Regions from separate parts of the Homo sapiens genome. Here all the other regions are linked to region 2. The links are contacts of gene promoters, found by promoter capture Hi-C in human tissues and cell types (Jung and others, 2019). All regions are on one chromosome and are shown on one strand. The core of a region is centred on a gene start or on the middle of the fragment in contact, and the rest is flanking DNA. Distances in the headings are between cores, read along the strand shown. Region 1 holds the start of TFRC (transferrin receptor). Region 2 holds the start of SENP5 (SUMO specific peptidase 5). Region 3 holds the start of LINC02012 (long intergenic non-protein coding RNA 2012).

What was found. The method cuts DNA at HindIII sites, captures the fragments that hold promoters and counts their contacts. A contact is called where the count stands out against the background at its distance.
Region 1: a contact is called between the fragment with the promoter of TFRC here and the fragment with the promoter of SENP5 in region 2, in 1 of the 25 tissues and cell types used here (hippocampus).
Region 3: a contact is called between a fragment that was not itself captured here and the fragment with the promoter of SENP5 in region 2, in 1 of the 25 tissues and cell types used here (lymphoblastoid cells).

What each region holds. Positions count from the first base shown.
Region 1 is chr3:196,079,648-196,083,785 of GRCh38, forward strand. It overlaps TFRC (transferrin receptor), which reads right to left and starts at 2,443. Exons shown (of 19, transcript NM_001128148.3): 1 at 2,396-2,443. RefSeq lists an enhancer at 695-1,194 and silencers at 2,076-2,375, 2,426-2,765. The HindIII fragment of the contact is 11,516 bases long and covers 376-4,138 here.
Region 2 is chr3:196,866,365-196,870,342 of GRCh38, forward strand. SENP5 (SUMO specific peptidase 5) reads left to right here and starts at 1,556. Exons shown (of 10, transcript NM_152699.5): 1 at 1,556-1,709. RefSeq lists a silencer at 1,333-1,912 and an enhancer at 2,564-3,065. The HindIII fragment of the contact is 4,194 bases long and covers 51-3,978 here.
Region 3 is chr3:197,507,960-197,512,099 of GRCh38, forward strand. It overlaps BDH1 (3-hydroxybutyrate dehydrogenase 1), which reads right to left. Exons shown (of 8, transcript NM_203314.3): 8 at 1,824-4,140. The coding sequence ends at 3,936. It overlaps LINC02012 (long intergenic non-protein coding RNA 2012), which reads right to left and starts at 1,702. Exons shown (of 1, transcript NR_145451.1): 1 at 1-1,702. RefSeq lists a silencer at 239-533 and an enhancer at 3,793-4,140. The HindIII fragment of the contact is 6,420 bases long and covers 1-4,140 here.

The DNA.
Region 1 (4,138 bases), core at 1,193-3,692, 790 kb before region 2:
TTGTGTTATCTTTGGTGTTCTCAATGGTGACTGAAAACAACAATTCAATTTCTCACATTAATAATGAAGCTCAGGTAGGCAAAACGTAGCCCCACGTTTTGAACCATGAAATGGAACACATTCACTGCCTAACAACTTCACTACCCTCTATTTTCTCCAAAATCAGACAGAATCCAGCCCCTGTTTTTACCCACCAACATTCTTCTCTGTTCCTTGAGGTCCTCCTCATTTCTTCCAGGCTCAGCTCAAGGCTTCATCTCTATGAAGCCTTCTCTGACTGACTTCCCTATCCTGTAATAACTGGTATTGAACTACCTGATAATGAGTAAAAATATTGTCTTTAACAGTACTGGGGCATGCCTGATGCATGAGATTCCAAATGATATGAAAAATATAATGAAAACATTGGACCAGGAATCTTTTCCCGTCCCCATCACTCTTCTGGTTTAGTAGGGAGTTTTTTTGTTGTTGTTTTTGAGATGGCATCTCGCTGTCGCGCAGGCTGGAGTGCAGTAGCACGATCTCAGCTCACTACAACCTCTGCCTCCCAGGTTAAAGCGACTCTCGAGCCTCAGCCTCCTGAGTGGCTGGGATTACAGGTGTGCACCACCATGCCCAGCTAATTTTTGTATTTTTCGTAGAGACGGGGTTTCACCATGTTGGCCAGGCTAGTCTCGAACTCCTCACCACAAGTGATCCACCTGCCTCGGCCTCCCAAAGTGCTGGAATTACAGACGTGAGCCACCATGCCCGGCTAATTTTTGTGTTTTTAGTAGAGACAGGATTTCACCATGTTAGTCAGACTGGACTCGAACTCCTGACCTTAGGTGATCCGCCTGCCTTGGCCTCCCAAAGTGCTGGGATTACAGGCGGGAGCCAATGCGCCCAGCCGAGGGTCATTTTTAACTAGCATTGTGATCGATTCAGGTTTAGCTGGGAATCTTGCTCCATGACATTTAAATACATTATCAGAGGCAAGTAACTGCCTCGCCTTAGGGCGGAGTTAGCCAAACTGCTGTCTATCTAACAATCTTCAACACAGGCTAGGTTTACAGCCACCATTACTTGATAAGAACATCCAAAGGAAATTGAAGGATGCTATGCTATATATAACCTTGCAAAATCGATGACAAAAATTATCTTAACTCTGAGTTTTCTTGAGAAGCATATTGTAACCCAAAATTCAGGGCCGGGGGGCGGGGGGAACCAGCAGGGTCCACAAGTACTCTAGACAGCCTAACCTTAATTTTCACAGTAAGCTTAGCATATAAGCATGGGGTAGCCAAATACAATTTCCTACTTTAATCCTCTTATCAACGGGGAAGAAAATGGAAAAAGCTGCAGAATCCAGTCCCCCGGGTAAGTGAGGTCTCTACAAGCAGTAAGCAGAGGGAAAGCGTTATCCGAAAAGAGCCGAATCAGAATGTATTTTCTTACCCACCCTCCCAACCTTAAAAGAACTGTCCAGCAGAATGTGACACAATCGGCCTCTCCGGCGCCCATCAATCCAGCACAGCCCTCTGACCACACCGCTAATCTCCAAGTATCTTTCACAAATAAGTCACTCCTATGGCTCCCGTCTTGTAGTGAGAACTGCTAGCAATATTCTTAATGTGAACACCTGCGGCGTTCAGTCGGATTCTGCCTTGAGAAAACAGAATCCACACACAAGGCGAACAGGCAGAGCATGGCAAGATCAGGTTGTACCAGAGCCGAAGGGTAAGTTTACAGAAACCCGTATCTAATTAATGCCTGTAACACGCTAGTAACCGAATCGGGGACAGCTTTGTCCCTTTCCGCAGTGAGAACGGGGCCCGCCCGGAGCCCGGGGAACCGAAGGTTTAGGAGCCCAAGGTCACCCACGAATCCCAGCCGTTCCCTGGGGCGACTTCCTGGAGCAGCCACGTGTTCCCCCGGCGCCGCACGCCGCGCAGCTGCACCTTGGCTGCGCCCGCGCTCCCGGACCCGCAGCCCGGAGCCGGCGCACTAGGGCCTGCGGCCTTCAAGGGCGAGGACCCGAAGTCCCCGGGGCTGAGAGCGACAGTGGGGGTACACCTGGTCTCGTCATTCGTCGCTCTGTGACCGAGGAGGCGGGCAAGAAGGCAGAGAGAAGGGAAGGGACGAGAGGCGAAGGGACGAGAGGCGCAGGGACGCCTCTGCGCACAGCCGCCGACCCCGTGTACCTGCAGCCGCTCGAGGCGCCGCCACAGCCCCTTCCCCACAGGCTCGCGGCCCCGCTCCATCCCGGCCGCCCCGCCTGGGGCCGCGACCGCTTTCCCGCTCCCCGTGCGGCTCCCTATGGCTGCTGGACAGCACCGGAGCGGCCGCTCCAGCCAGCCCCGCAGGATGAAGGGAGGACACGAGGGTCGGTGTAGTTCTAGAAGCCCGCACTCACACTAGCGCGTCCTCCGTCCCGAGCCGCCACCCGATATCCCGACGCTCTGAGGGGATGGCGGCCCCTAACCGGCGGTTTATAGCCTGGCCCCGCCCCCGGCCCCCAGGGGGGCTGTGCGTCACTTCCTGAGGCACGTACGCTCGCGAGGTGCTCTGACAGATCGCCCGGGGGGCGGGGATGCGCGCGCAGCGGGCGGGGCCCTATGCGGAGGGCGCTGCGGGCGAGGCGAAGGCCAAGGGAAAAGGCGCCAAGGCAGCAGGTGCCCCGAGGAGCCGCGCGATGGGCGCACTGGCCTCTGCCTCGGCGCCTTCCTCCACCCTGGTAGCCTGGCAGCCTCCGCCTGACCTTGACCAACCTCCAGTCCCTGCAGTGCTAGGTCCAATCTGTTGGCGTTGACGCTTAAATGTTGGATATTGCACTGCGGCAGTGCCTTGAAATGTACGTGCAGGATGGAATGTTAGGTAACTATTAAAGCCACTCTTGTGAAGATGTATTTTGCAGCCTCAGAAATACAAAAAGGAAAAGAAAAGCAAAATGCAAATTTTTATTCAGAATGTATACAAGCTGCACTTTAACCAAGACTAGCGGAGTGCTTTGCGTAATGTTTAATGCATGAGGGAATAAAAGGGAAAATAGAAACAAGTGACTTAATAGGGTGATAGGATTGTAGATTAACTTTCGTTTTCATTGCCATCGCTGTTATTGGATTGTGCAATGAATAACAAATAAATAAAATTCAATTCTTGTCACTGTTTAAACTCTTTCCAAACAATCACACCCTCTCCCTCCCTCTGGTCAGTAACCAGCAGGCCAGGGAGGTAGTAGCTACAATGCAAGAAAGCAACCCATACCTTAAAAAGCATTGCACATAAACTGACCTTCAGGCCCGTAGGGACACAGAACAGCCCTTTAAGAAGCAAATCCGTTTCTGGGCCTTGGGCTTTTACTCTTCCCTTTATTTCTTCTGCTCTAAGATAGAGAAAGTACTTGGGATTCTCACCGCCTTTCTCTTTACTCCCATTCTCTAAAATCTCTCTCCCCAAAGAGAAGTGTTTAAAAGTCATATGAGTTGCCAGGCGCGGTGGCTCACGCCTGCAATCCTAACACTTTGGGAGGCCGAGGTGAGCGGATCACGAGGTCTGGAGTTCGAGACCAGCCTGACCAATATGGTGAAACCCCATCTCTACTAAAAAAATTTCAAAAAAAATTAGCCAGGCATAGTGGCACGCGCCTGTAATCCCAGCTACTCAGGAGGCTGAGGCAGAAGAATCGCTTGAACCCAAGAGGCGGAGGTTGCAGTGAGCCAAGATCGCGCCATTGCACTCCAACCTGGGCGACAGAGCAAGATTCCATCTCAAAAAAAAAAAAAAGTCATATGAGCAGGAGCATTGCTGCACCTTTAATGATCTAATCAGGAAAAGGTTAAGGATGCACATCCACAGAGGGCCTACCTTAACATTCAGACACCAGGCCTGCTCCCCTGTGGTGTTCCTTCTTTATTTCTTTAATTATTAATTTTATTTATTTTTATTATTTTTACTTTTAAGACAGTGTCTTGCTCTGTCACCCTGGCTGGAGTACAGTGGCATGATCTCGGGCTCACTGCAACCTCTGCCTCCGGATTCAAGCGATTCTCCTGCCTCAGCCTCCCAAGTAGCTGGGACTACAGGTGTGTGCCACCATGCCAGGCTAATTTTTGTATTTTGAGGAGTGACGGGATTTTATCATGTTGGCCAGGCTTGT
Region 2 (3,978 bases), core at 306-2,805:
CAGAGAAACTCAATGATATCCAAGACAGATAAATACAAAGAAAACAAAGATAGGGCACAAAATAAATGGCTAAAAATCACTAACAGGCTGGGTGCGGTGGCTCACGCCTGTAATCCCAGCACTTTGGGGGGCTGAGGCGGGCAGATCACGAGGTCAGGAGATCGAGATTATCCTGGCTAACTTGGTGAAACCCGGTCTCTACTAAAGAAATACAAAAAAAATTAGCCAAGCGTGGTGGTGGACGCCTGTAGTCCCAGCTACTCAGGAGGCTGAGGCAGGAGAATGGCGTGAACCCGGGAGGCAGAGCTTGCAGTGAGCCGAGATGGCGCCACTGCACTGCAGCCTGGGCGACAGAGCGACACTCCTCTAAAAAAAAAAAAAAAATCACTGACAAAGAGAAACTGTTAAAAAGAAGTGAGAGGGCCTGGTGTGGTGGTTCACGCCTGTAATTCGAGCACTGTGGGAGGCCCAGGTGGGAGGATCACTTGAGCTCAGGGGTTCAAGACCAGCCTGGGCAACATAGGGAGATGTCATCGCTACAAAAATAATGATAGTAATAGTAATAAAAAATTAGCCGGGCGTGGTGCAGGAGCCTGTGGTCGCAGGTACCCTGGAAGATGAGGTGGGAGGATCGCTTGAGCCCAGGAGGCAGAGGTTACAGCGAGCCTAGGGTGTGCCACGGCACTCCGGCTTGGGCGAGACAGCAAGACCCTGTTTGGAAAAAAAAAAAAAAGAAAAGAAAAAAGAAAAAAAAATCAACAGTAATTGCAGCCATTGCTTAGAACTAAGACTAAACAAAGCTTTTGTTTGGAAAGGAGTACTTTTTCATTAACATTGTTTAGAATTTTCTGACACATGATGATAATTAAAAGCAAACCATCCTGCAGTTGGCTTCGGTATTGTTTTTATCTTCTCCACCATCAATGCATATCCTTACTGCCTACACAGGCTCTCAGCAACGCACTGTTGGTTTTCCATTGCAGTCACCTCCACTTTATTCTTCCAGATCGAGTATGTTCAAAACTGAACTCATCTTCCGCCATAAATCTGCTATTATTATGTTTTTGCCTGTCAGGACATCGGCTTATAATTTTGGAAAGCATTCACAGTTGGGGCGGGTAAGACATAGATAAAGAGGCCAATCACAATACCAGGGGTAAGATCAATAGGAAAACCAGAGAGCGGACGCCTGGGCCAGGCCTCACAACGTCCAGAGCTGGAATGGGTCTTTTGCTTTCGGCGCAGGGGTGACGGGATCAGCGGAGGGTAGGGGTGTACACTAGCTGCGGTCTGATTTAGCCCTTTTAGGTTAAAAGCTGGAGAAGGGGCTGAAGTCTCAAACGCGCTTAGCAGCTCCTGAACGCGGTTCCCATCCCAGCGCGTTCTGAGGGAGGCCGGGGCTAAGGACGCGGTGACGGGCGGGGGCGGGGCGGCCCCGGGTCGGGAGGCGGGGCGGGAGCGCCGGAAGCGGGCGGTGCCAGGCCCAGCCTCGCAGGCGGAAGGGCGCGGAGGAGGTGACGCGATAGGCCAGCGCCGGCGTCGCGGCAGCCGCTTCAGAGGAAGCTCGGCGGCTGTGGCCGCGGCGAACAGGCCGGACGCCTCGTCGCTGGCGGGGCTTCCCTTGGAGCTGACGAAGGCGGGGTCCGCGGTCCAGGCTGCTGCCGCGACGGGGCCGGCGGCGGGGCAGCTGCCAGGAACGAGGGTAGCAGGTAAGCGGGGACGCGGGCAGACGAGTGACGGACTCAGCGATCGCCTGGCGGGGCTGGCTGGGGCCATTCCCGCGCCGGTGCGCCACCTCAGCGCCCGGTCCGGAGGCCTCGAGCCGCCCTCCCCCGCCCGAGCTGGAGGCCGCCGTCCGTCTCGGCCACAGCCTCCCTTTCCGGGGGAGGCGAGCGAGCTCGTCCCGAGGGGCCGCTGCCCTGCGCTCTCGCTCCAGCCGGGCTGTGCGTCGCAGGCACCGGGAAGCTGGCGCCCCCCAGCTCCTCCTGAAGCCGGGAAAGCTCTGAGAGGAGGAGCCGCTGTCACAGGCCTCCAGCTCCGGCCGCCGTGGAAGTCCGGGGTTTTTATTTGCTTAGACCGCTCTGCCTCCTTCCGGCCTTCGTTTCTTTCCTCGCGCTCCCCGGGACCCTTTTCCAGAGAGCCCGGTTGGGCATGAGCGCGGTGGGAGACGTCTTTTCCCTTCGGTCTGCTCTGAGCGGTATCAGCCTCCGCTCTACGCCCTGTGGCCACTCTGTCGGGGTGGAGGGATGCGGAGAGGATGTGGGAGTTTTGGACTTAGAGCGAGAATAGCCGAGGTGAAATCCTACCCTGCTCTCTGGTAGTGTTTTTCATCTCATGCTAGATAGACATTTCGACCTTTTTCACCGCAGGTAAAGTGGGACTTTCTTCTACCAATGTAAATTATAATGTTTGGAGAATTAAATGAAGAAAGCAGACGTTAGTTATGAAATGTTTTGAGAATCTGGTTAAATTTAATTTAAGAATATCCAGGACACTTCATGATAGGTTCCTACTTATGTTTTTTTTTTGCATTTTGCCCGGAATAACTAAGCTTGGTATGGAAAAGGTTGCCTAGAGATGCCAGGCGCTCGTGTGGTCAGAGCCTAACTGCAGTCTCTGTTTTGGGTGGGCAGCATCAGGAAGAAACCAGACTCTCTCCTAGCCATCCACATGTCTCACGCTTATTGATGGCATATTATTGGTATATGAGGGATGGCTTATATCAGTTTTGATCTTTACTCAAGATAGCTTTTTCCCAGTGCATCTTTTCTAGGAGAAAAGCTTGGTATGTAGAGGAGGGTGCTGGGGAGGGGGGCTTCATTTACACCTGGGCTCACAATTTTTTTTTGGAGGGGGGACAGGGTCTCACTCTGACACCCAGCCTGGAGTGCAGTGGCGCGATCTTTTCAGCTCACTGCAACCTCCTCCTCCCAGGTTCAAGCGATTCTCCTGCCTCAGCCTCCAGAGTAGCTGGGATTACAGGTGCCCGCCATCGCGCCCGGCTAATTTTTGTATTTTTAGTAGACATGGGGTTTCACCATGTTGGCCAGGCTGGTCTCGACCTCCTGACCTCAAGTGATCTACCTGCTTCCGCCTCTCAAAAGTGCTGGGATCAGCCGGGCGCGGTGGTTGACGCCTGTAATCCCAGCACTTTGGGAGGCCGAGGCGGGCAGATCACCTGAGGTCGGGAGTTCGAGATCAGCCTAACCAACATGGTGAAACCCCATCTCTACTAAAAATACAAAATTAGCCAGGCGTGGTGGCGCATGCCTGTAATCCCAGCTACTCGGAAGGCTGAGGCAGGAGACTAGCTTGAACCCGGGAGGCGAGGTTGTGGTGAGCTGAGATAGTGCCATTACACTCCAGCCTGGGCAACAAGAGCAAAACTCCGTCTCAAAAAAAAAAAAAAAAAAAAAAAAAGGTGCTGGGATTACAGGAGTGAGTCACTGCGCCTGGGCTATATTACTTTCTAAATCAGCCTTTTTTTTTTTTTTTGGTAGGCCATTATGTGAATCCTTCAAAAATCATAGAAAAATTGAAATTTAACAATATTTTGCTTTTATTCTAGCTTGTCATAAACCCAGTGCTCTATACACAGGCCTGCCTTTCTGCCTCCTTCATCCTGGCATGCATGGCCATTTACTTTGTGTTATTAGCCAGCTTCCTATGGAGCTCAGTTTGAGAACGGGGTTCTGTGCTTCTCTAGTTGCCAAACATCTGATTGAAGTAGATCACCTTGGCATTTGCGATATTAAGCATGTCTTTGCGAATTTTTAGTTCCTTTTTCTTTTCTTGGTTAGATTGTACTCTGTCACTGATTTAAAGAATTTGGTAGACGCTCAGAAAGGGTCAACTGGTAAGGTGGTCACAGTGCTTTACATGTATTTTTCTTACCTATTATGGTGAAACCCTTGTGACTTTTTTTGGGCGTGGGTAATATTTTCAAAATTAAGGTAAATAGGCCATCAGGCTGCGTTG
Region 3 (4,140 bases), core at 987-3,486, 640 kb after region 2:
CCTCAAGCCCTTTGAGGGCAGCTCCAGAATCCAGCTCTGCCTGCTTGGTCTTTGAATTCCTAGAGCCTGCTCTCGGGAATGGCCTTGACAGAGCCGACTTCCCGCTGGAAGGATACTGGGGGCTCCTCCAGCACATTCTCTCACAGGGGGCAGCACTTAGAGCCCAAAACGGGAAGGGAAGGAGGGTCTGGCTCGAGTGGCAGGACCCCATGGTTGCTACTGTGCGTAGGCTGAGAGTCTCCTCGCTGTTACGTAACTGAGGACTTCTTCCCTCCCTATTTTAGATCCTGCTGCCATCTGCCCTGATTTTCCGCATCACCAGCTCTGGGCTGGAGGTTAGATCTGGCTGGACACCCAGCTCTACCCCTCACTTGGTGACAGACTTGGGAAAGCCTGTTTCTGCAAAATAAGATAACCCCACCCTGCCTATCCTGCCTGGGTTGCTGTGAGAATCAGGTGAGAGGAAGCTGTGGTGGCTGGGTAGCAGGACCTGCACTTGGCCCCTGTGCCTGGTTGCTGTCTGGCCAACCCAACCTGGGGCTGCCTGAGCCAGGGGAGCCTCTGCTTGCTCATGTCGGCTCCTATATCAACACAGTTTGCACAGGTTTGCAGAGCCAGGCCCTGTTCGAAATACAGGCAGTGAACAGACCTCACAAATGGGGAGTCTTTGTCAGACCCCCTGCCATGGGTGGCAAGGGTGCAGACCTAGCAGCTTGTGACAGGCGGGGCCAGGCTGGCTGTCACCTGCTCACACAGCCTCTTGGCCCCGGGTGGAATGCTAAGCACAGCAGGTGCTCTGTAACAAGGCACTGTCAGGCGCATCTTGCAAGAAGCCCTTGCCCAGCCTCCAACCATCAGGGGATGGGTTTGTGCTGGCTGGAGTCACCAGACCATAGGTCCGCACAGGCAAAGGCCTCCTTCCTACTTACTCTGACAAGAAGGAGCGGCTCTCTGCCAGCAGACAAGCAGTGAGGGTCTAGGTGCCTGGTGACCCCAACTGGCTTTGCTTCCAGGGCTGTTGCGAGCCACAGTGTTATGTGATAGTGAAGAGTGCCACTCAGGAGACTTTTGTTCTGGCCCTGGTCCTGCCGTGGATTTACTGTGACACTGAGTGAGTCACTTTCCTTCTTTGGGCCTCAGTTATGTCATCTATAAAATGGGAATATACACCTGTTTTGTCCTCTCACTCTTTTTTTGTTTTGTTGTTGTTGTTTTGTTTTTTGAGACAGAGCCTCACTCTGTTGCCCAGGCTGGAGTGCAGTGGCATGATCTCGGCTCACTACAACCTCTGCCTCTGGGTTCAGTCGATTCTCCCTGCCTCACCCTCCCGAGTAGCTGGGGTTACAGGCGCCCACCACCACGCCTGGCTAATTTTTGTGCTTTTAGTAGAGACAGGGTTTCACCACGTTGGCCAGGCTGGTCTTGAACTCCTGACCTCAGGCGATCCGACCGCCTGGGCCTCCCAAAATGCTGGGATGACAGGTGTGAGCCACCGCGCCCGGCCACGCACTCTGGTAAAGACGAAAACTACGTCCTGCGCCCCGGTAGGTTCTAAGCTGCCGGAAAGTGAATGGTGAATATGAGGTTTGAGTTAGCACTGGAGTTATTTGGAGGGATGGTAGCCTGGGCTTTTCAATCACTGGAAACGATTAAAAGCCAGAACAACCTGCACAGGCCGGCCCAGCAGTTCTAGCTTACTCAGAAGATCCCAGTAGACGCACATGCAGCTTCTCTGACGTTCGGGTCTGCTGATGGGGACCCAGAGTATGTGGCCCTCCTTCCTCTAGTTCCCAGGCAGGGACGCACACGTGCAACTCCAAGGCTCCATCTATTTTCCTTTAATAAACTTCAGCACGGACACAAATTCGCCCAACATGTAAAAGTGCAATTCCGAAAGGATCCTGCTAGAACAAGGTCCACGGTACAAAAGCATCCTATGGTTATGTAACTGCAGCGGCCACCAAGCGTCCCCCTCTGGGCTCTGGAGGGTTTCGGCCCTGCCTGCCTCCCCCCCTCCTCCTGGGGCAGCTGGGACAGGGGACCCCTGTTTGAAGACAGCGGGGACAACGGCCCGGGAGGCAGCTGAATTGCCCATTGTGAGGCCCTTCTTCCTTGGCACTGCCTGAACCCCGTAGCCCACTCCGGCTGCCCGGGCTCTTCTGCCTTCTCCTGGCACCAGCCTCCGGGCCCGGGCCAGCTGCTAGGAGAGCGAGAACACTGTTTCTGAAGGGTGCTGCTTGCTTCTTTGTTCCCGGTTTCCGAAGCGCGAATCCCGAACGCCGTGAGAAACCTCAGGCTCGGGCGGCAGCGCGGGAGTCTGGGGCGCTGGAGGCCGGCGCCGGCTGCGGAGGAGGAGCGCCCTCTAGCGGCAGGTCCGCCCAGGGAGAGGCGGAAACGCGGAGTCTGATTCGAAGGCGGGCACTGGGGACCCTGCCCCGGGCCGAAAGCCCCCTGGAGGACAGTGGTGTTTGGCTTCGGTCCCAACATACAGGCCCTGGGCAGTCGCAGGGATGGCAGCTTTCAAACTGAAACCCAAGAAGTGATCATGCAGACCCTGCCTCAAGTGGCATCACTTCTTAATTGAAAAGAGGCCGAGGCGAGGCGGGAATGAAGGCCACGCTGAAGCCCTGCAGAACAGGGGTGTGTGTGTGTGTGTGTGTGTGTGTGTGTGTGTGTGTGTGTGTGTGTGTGTGTGTGTGTGTGTGTGTGTGTACATGTGTGTAAGGTGTGTGTGTGTGTGTGTGTGTGTGTGTGTGTGTACATGTGTGTAAGCACCACGTGAGGCAAGCAGGGACCCCAAATCCACTGCTAGGGGAGATGCCACAGTGCCCTGCCATGGCACCACTGCTCGTGCCAAGCCTGCCCCATCGACACCGGCCCCACCCAAGGCAAAACCAAGCAGACCCAAACCAGTAACAACTTATCCCCTTAGCCAGAGAGCACCTCCACACAAGTCTATCCTGAGTCCTAAAAGAGGATGGAAAAATCTCAAGTAAAAATCTCATGCCTGTAATCCCAGCACTTTGGGAGGCCAAGGCAGGCGGATCACTTGAAGTCGGGAGTTCGGGACCAGCCTAGCCAACATGGTGAAACCCCATCTCTACTAAAAATACAAAAATTAGCCCGGCATGGTGGTGGGTGCCTATAACCCCAGCTACTTGGAAGGCTGAGGCAGGAGAACCGCTTGAACCAGGGAGGCGGAGGTTGCAGTGAGCGGAGATGGTGCCATTGCACTCCAGCCTAGGGGACTGAGCAAGACTGTGTCTGGAAAAACAAAAATCTCCAGAAACATTCCCACCCCCTCCATACAGCCAGCTCTGAGTCACTGGCTGCTGGCTGGCCAGTCACACAGCACCATGGACATGCAGAGGTACCAGTGGGCACTTGGTGTGTGCTGCCCAGATGAGGACACAGAGTTAGTCAGAAGATTCTCGGGCAAATGGATCCAAAACAGTCCTGGAATGCAAATGTGAAGTATTTCCACAGCCGTGGCAGGAACACATAACTGGCACTATTTATAAGCGATAAAAGGGTTATTTCATGCATCCTCTTTAAGCTGCAAATGCTTCATTTACAAAAGAAAAAAACCTGTCCTTTTCATTCATGAGACTGGCTTAAGGATCAAATGAGATCTGTTTTTAATATAAAGATGTTTTCTTAAAATCTCTGTATGAAATTATCTCCGGAGAGATAGATTCACCATGTTTGCCCTGAGATTTAGAGGCCTCTGCCTGCCACTCCACACCCTGTTTGTGAAGGCCCAAGTCACTCACTATGCAAAGAAGTCATTCCCTCTAGTTAGTGTTAAAACCAGTTATGGGTCTTCCTGGCATGGTGGATAATCCACACGTGGATAATCAAGAGTTGACTATATGGGTTCCTCCCTCCCCTCCCCTTCCACCAGGGATCCCTGACAGAGGCCACAGCGAGACTCTTCAGCGGATGTAGATCATGTCGGAGATGGCTCCAGGCAAGTGGGTCATGATCTGCATTCGCAGCCACCAGTAGTAGTCCATGGGGTGGTAGCGGGTGTAGGGGGTGGTGGCGGTCAGGGCGTGTGTGACAGCATCGATGACAGGGGACGTGTCTGTGGAGCCACTGCTGCAGTAGGTCTCCATCTTGGCGATCTTTTCATCAAAG